2 separate regions of the Homo sapiens genome follow, and region 1 is linked to region 2. The links are contacts of gene promoters, found by promoter capture Hi-C in blood cells and fetal thymus (Javierre and others, 2016). All regions are on one chromosome and are shown on one strand. Each heading gives the region's core, a stretch centred on a gene start or on the middle of the fragment in contact. The rest is flanking DNA. Distances are from core to core; before and after follow the strand shown. Region 1 has its middle 72 kb from the start of CCNG2. Region 2 holds the start of SHROOM3 (shroom family member 3).

Region 1 (3,136 bases), core at 209-2,708, 790 kb after region 2:
TTCTCAGGTGATGGGTGGGGCCATAGAGCTCCCAAGAGTTTCTTTGGTTATCACAGCAGGTAGGAAAAAAATCAGGTGGGGTCATGGCTAGGTGAGTCTGAGCTCAGACTCCTGGGGTGGGGCTTGCTGCAGCCACTGTGGGAGGGGATAGGGGGTGGTTTTCAGGCCAATGGATCTGTTTCTGGGGGGATTATGGCTGCCTCTGCTGTGTCATACAGGTTTCCAGGGAAGTGGGGGAAAGCTGGTAGTGACAGGCCTCACCCAGCTGCTATGTAGCCGGCAAGGCCATTCTGGCTCCTGCTGTGCCCTGCCAACAGCACTGAGTTTATATCCAGGCAGCGGGTGTGCAGGGCTGAGATCTTGCCTCAGGCTATAAGCCTTTACACTGAGAAAGCAGGGCTCTCAGGCAGCTCATGAACCAATGGCTGTAGCTTCTACTTGTATCTGCACTGCCTGTTTAACTCCCTGGATTCTGCTCAGGAAAATTTATGCTTAATTTAGTACAAACTTCAGCTAGAAGCTTCCTTCACCTTGTGGCCCCTCTCCAATTTCACTGGCTGCCTTCCCCAAGGACCCCTGTGAGAGGGCCAGGAAATGGCTTCCCTGGGCCTGAGCTGGGGATTGGGAGTGCCTATAGGGCTCTTCTAGTTGCTGCTTCTACTTACGTATTTCACTCCACTCCCTAGATGAGTTTCAGCTCTAGGTAAGGTTAAATCCTCCTCCTGTGATCTGGGTTTTCATGTTCCTCAGTGGGGATGTGTGTTTGAAAGCAGGCTTCTCCCCCTCTCACACTTTTGGGAGCTCAGTTTTTTGGCTGTCTCATGGATTTTGCAGCAGCAAGCTGCTTCTTTCAAAGGGTCTGAATTGTTTTCCTGGTATGTTCCTGCAGTGGCTCTTGGAGTAAAAGCCCATGATGTGAGTCTCCACACTGTTCTTTCTGTCCAAGTGGGAGTTGCACATTAGTTCTGTCTCTTGGCATTTTCTTCTAAAATCCTACAATATGGTTTTTAGATTGGCTGAGAGTAAACCATTCTTATGCCACCTGGAGGAAACTAGTCTCATAGCATGATCCACAGGGGAGGGCAGAGTAAAATCAGCTGTGGGAGTAGACAGCCTCAATATAGGGATCCCAGCCAGATCTGGGGCAGCTGCCATGGATGTGGGACATTTCAGTCCCCAGAGTAGGAAGGACCTTGGGATGGCAGGCTCAACTCTCTACCTCCCTCTGAGGGGAAGACTCAAGCTGGGGAACCCCTAGGGGATGAAGGTTGAGATGATCCACATGAAGTACCCATCAACCATGGGCAGTGTCTGTGCAGAATGTATCCAGGGTGGTGTCTTAATCTTTGATTCTGGATGTAGAATGTCTTAAACTGCTTGTCGTTGTAAAACGGAGGTATATTTGACTGGTTAATTGCCAGATGACTAAAACCTTACTTTTTACTTCATTTTGGAGACTTTGAAGGCCTGATTCAGAGTTGAAGGCTCAGAGTTGAAAGAAACGTGGTAGACTTACAGTAGACTTCCCTCACACCCCAGGTAGCTCCCTCTTCATGTCAGGTGTGTTAAATGAGGCTTGTATACTTGTATGCCTACCATGTGACAGAAGCTGTGATTTACTCCTAACTCTCATCTTATTGCTAAAGACTTGGCTGGAGAAAAGCTAATATGCCTGCACGACATTCTTGTTCCCTTTCCTAGGAAAAGGCACCTAGACCTTACAGCAACAGGCCAGGATGGCATGGTCCTGGTGGAGTGGGAGCAGAAGCATAGAAGCACTTAAAGTACATCCCCCATGAGTATTCACTGTTCCCTGCCCAGGTAGTCTTAGGACCTCCTGAGTCCCATGTCCTGCCTGGGCCCATCTGTGAGGTGGGGGAGATGCATCTTCACTAGATGAAGGGCACAGCTAGATTTAGGATCTTGGCTTTTCTTCAGATATTATCCTCCAGGTTTCCTGATATACCTTGGAGCCAAGACTTGATAGGTGGGGATTCCACTCCAATCCATACCACAGACTAATTGTCTGAGGGAATTCTGTGTACTAGATACAGACTGAAAAGAGTTGGATTCCATTTACCTCTTCACCTGCCTCCACCCATTAACATAGATTAATCTCTCCTGAAACTTCTGTAGACCACTGCCACCCATGCCTCTGGGCTTGGTCAGTCATCCTCACATCTGCTACAATGGGCCACCTTCTAGAGCTGCTGGCCAATTTGGGAATTTTTAGATATGGTTCATGTTTTTTCACCCTACATTGCTTTAGGGTTGGGGCTTCTTACTATGCTTTAGGTTTCAGCTCAGAAGTTACTGTCTCACCTTCGGTCATCTTCCTTCATGGCTGGTCACCCTATGTGCTCCCCAAGATGCTCAGAAACTTAATGGTGTGGCTCCAAGCTTCAGACACCGACTTGTACTTGCTGAGCCTAGCAGAGTGGGAGGGGAAGCTGGGCACTAGGTTACATTCTCATTAGTCTTGCCAAGGATTTTGGACATGACCTGACATGTAGTAGGGAAGCTGTTAAGAATTACAGGTGATTTGCAGGTGTTTGTCATCAGACTTAATTTTATAAACTTGCCATTCTAGAAAACAAAGATGTCAGGAATCATGGGCAGGGGAAGCCATTTTGAGTGTCCAAGTCTTGGTGAGAAATGGAATAGGGTGGCAGGATTGGAAATGCAAAAAACATTTGAAGGACACAAGAGATGTAATCAATAGGATTTGGTGGCTCCTGAAATCCTTACCGGGAATATGGGTAAACATAAAGACAGCATAATGGAGGGGATCTAGTGTCCAGGTCCAAAGATAGCCATACTCAAAAGCACCCAATGATGGAGACATGTATAAGATACATGAGTAGCCATGGTGTAGGACTCAGCCAAATGAGTCATAAAGGTAACTTGGCTTTCACTGGCTAATACTTCAATATTCCACTGGCTTCAACTTTTAACATTAGGCCCTCTTTTATGCTGGACTACCTCTGGCATTGAGAGGTTTTATTTCACCATTGCAGCAGTACGACTGGGATATAATACCCAAACTTGAGTTGCAGAGTAAAACTGTTACCCAAAACTATAAGTTTCCAAATGCAAGGCTTTCTAAAATGGTGGTTTAACATAATGTAATACAACA
Region 2 (3,118 bases), core at 561-3,060:
TCCAAACCTGGTCTATCAACTGCTATAGTGAAGGTCCACAAAATGAAGTTTTACATTTTTTTTTCAGATTACATATCAATTTTGGTTCTATGTTTGTTTCTTCAATATTTTTGGTGATAATCTAAAATGGAGATTTCATCAGTCTGCAAGCACTGGGTTCATATTATCTTTTCCTTATTTCCTTTGCCTTTAGCTTCATTACTTTTTTTGTTTATTATTTTTTAAATTGACAACTAAAAATTATATATACTTATGGTGTACCACATGATGTTTTGATATAAGTATGCATTGTAAAATGGCTAAATCAAGGAATTAACCTATTACCTCACATACTAATTTTTTTTGTGGTGAGAGCACTTAAAATCTAATCTTAGCAATTTCCAAATATACAATACATTGTTATAACTATGGTCATCATGCTGTACAATAGATCTCTTGAGCTTATGCCTCCTAACTGAAATTTTGTATAGCTATGTTACTTTTAATATTAAATGTGGATTCTGTAAAATCCCAGTTTTTACAAAATGTATTAGGAGTAACATAATAAGAGCCTCATAAATTAATTTTTTCAGAAAGAAAGCTGTTCATTTACCTAGGACTTTTATTTAAAATACATATGTTCTTTGAAATGAAAGAAAAGCTAATGTTTCTCCATTTATTCTAACTTACAAATTAAGCTGTAAAAGAAAACCACAATAGAAATTGCGTAAATTACCCTTAAGAATCAGCCAATTTTTACCACATACTTTCATTTGGTACACCTTAGGTTTCCTTATGTTTCCATTCACATACTACCATTACATAAGGTTTTACTTTTTTTTTTTTTTTTTTGTCTTTGAGCCCTTCAAGTGAAGTTACCATTGAAAATCAAACAATACCTGTCCAGTGTTGTAAATTAAATATCGTGTAGTTTGATATCATATACCTGCCTTTCCATATCAGCCTTTCATTAATTATAAGTACAAACACCAAAATAATTGTTATCAAGCCCCACAGTAGTTTTTAACTTCAGTTTTCAACTTAATTCTCATTATCCCATACTTTTAAACAGAAAAAAGTTTTAGTACATATATTACCTGGAAGTAATTCTAATCTGTTCCAATAACTAAATAGCTGAGGCTTCTGGGTTAGATATGGTTATCTTCTACTGTTCAAATTTTTAATACAAAGCATGAATGTTAAATTTGTATATAACATTATTACAAAATGACACTGGTAACATGAAATCAGAACAACATTCTTTCCCGAGTACCTAGTACTTACCCACAAGGCATTGTAGATTTCTTTTCATTTAAAGAGTGGATAACAATCTTGGAGTAGATAACAATGAAAACCTAGAAAAAAAAACCCACCTCCTGTTTTTATTGAGTCAAACAAGCAGAACTTTGATTGGAAAGTCCCATTTCATATATTACACTGGTAGTATTTTCTTCTAACGAAAAAAAAAAAGCCCTTGTGCCACCACCTTGACATGTACTTAAACGTTTACCCAAATCACTTAGGCATTGCTTCTCAAACTTGGCTGCATAGCAGAATTGCCTGGAGGGTTTTTAAAAACACAAATGCCTATGTCTCACTCCCTGAAATTCTCCTTTAATTGGTACGAGGCGGGGCTATTCTAGGAACTATTTTCTATCCCTTGGCAATTAGCCATCTGTATAGTATTTTTAACTTCCTACGTGTTATTAACTGTAAGACTGTTTGAATTGTCAGGTCTTTGTGGTGAGCTGAATTCTGCATGGCAGTGCTTACTGTGCAGAAAGGTTGCAATGCCTCACTTTGCCTTAATCCATGTTCCTCTAACTTCCTTACTCTTTCTCTCAAGAGGAGGCAAGTGGCTGTGGCGGCCGCAGCAGTGGCTGATCATCACTGAAAATACCAAAGAAAAGAACTGAGCTGCCTCCTTCATATTTTTTCCATTGAGGATTAATTTACCGTGCTTTTTCATTTTCTCTACATCCTGCAAAAGTTTTTTTCTCTCCTAAGAAACAAACTATGAACTGATTGTTGAAAAAAAGAAGTAAAAAGTTTTAGCACAGCTTCTCTGTCTCTTCGGGACAAGTTAGAAAATTCTGAAGTGAGCCGAAGCATAGTAAGTGCTTTCTTTCTTTTTAAGCTACTTCTGGGGAGGGAGGAGGCTATTGTAATGGTAAATTTCACTCCGAGAGGAAGAAAGGGTTGATAATCAATCAAAAATGAGGTATTCCTTTGAGTATTTGTGATTTTCTTACTATATTGTAAGATGCTTTTAATTTTCTCTGTAAAATAGGCAGAAATGGTTTTAGTGTGTGTATGTGTGAAATAAAAGCTCAGAAAAGCAATCTTCAGAGCGCCACTGAAGGAAGTTTTGACGAACGGAGTAGAGATGTATACCACTTGGGGGCTTCAGTGAGAACCCAGAATTCCTGGAGGAGGATTTACATTCAGAAATGTTGAAGTGAAAATTCCTTCTGGTTCAGCATCTTGGAGTTCAGCTTGGAAGAACATTTTACGTATGGAAGAATTTGCTTCTCCAAACCTCTCTTTTGGCCATTGTGTGTCCTGAAGGATGGGACAACTTGTGCTGTAGAAGCACTGCTTGCCTGAGTTTGCTTCAGGCATTTTAAATTTAACTTGAGGGATCATGTGTTTGGCATGATGAGGACCACTGAAGACTTCCACAAGCCTAGTGCCACATTAAACTCTAACACGGCCACCAAGGGAAGGTACATTTATCTGGAGGCATTCCTGGAGGGAGGAGCTCCCTGGGGTTTTACTCTAAAGGGTGGCCTGGAGCACGGAGAACCATTAATCATCTCTAAGGTATGTTTCTTTTTCCAATATTGCCTTTATTCAAATTGTTTTTTTCAACTTGTCAGATTTGTCAAAAATGCAAAATAATGAGAACTGCCTTAATATAACTTAATTTGCTGTTTCATGCCTTTCTGATTATCTAGAAATATTTTGGATAGCCTGGGATTTGAAAGAAAAATGTGTCTAGCTCATTTATTCTATGAAATCCGAAGAAAAATATGCCTGTTTGATGGATAATCTTCTCTTTTTGTGAATGAAATCGCATACAATCAGTTACCACATGAGCTTTTCAGTTATAAATCAGATTAAAGATTAATAACATGGT

What was found. The method cuts DNA at HindIII sites, captures the fragments that hold promoters and counts their contacts. A CHiCAGO score of 5 or more calls a contact.
Region 1: a fragment that was not itself captured here is called in contact with the fragment with the promoter of SHROOM3 in region 2 in 1 of 17 cell types (naive CD8 T cells); the score reaches 6.0 in naive CD8 T cells.

The regions. Positions count from the first base shown.
Region 1 is chr4:77,227,149-77,230,284 of GRCh38, forward strand. No RefSeq gene overlaps it. Among named protein-coding and RNA genes, the nearest start is that of CCNG2, 72 kb to the left of the region's middle. The HindIII fragment of the contact is 1,880 bases long and covers 519-2,398 here.
Region 2 is chr4:76,433,419-76,436,536 of GRCh38, forward strand. SHROOM3 (shroom family member 3) reads left to right here and starts at 1,811. Exons shown (of 11, transcript NM_020859.4): 1 at 1,811-2,802. The coding sequence starts at 2,635. The HindIII fragment of the contact is 11,529 bases long and covers 1-3,118 here.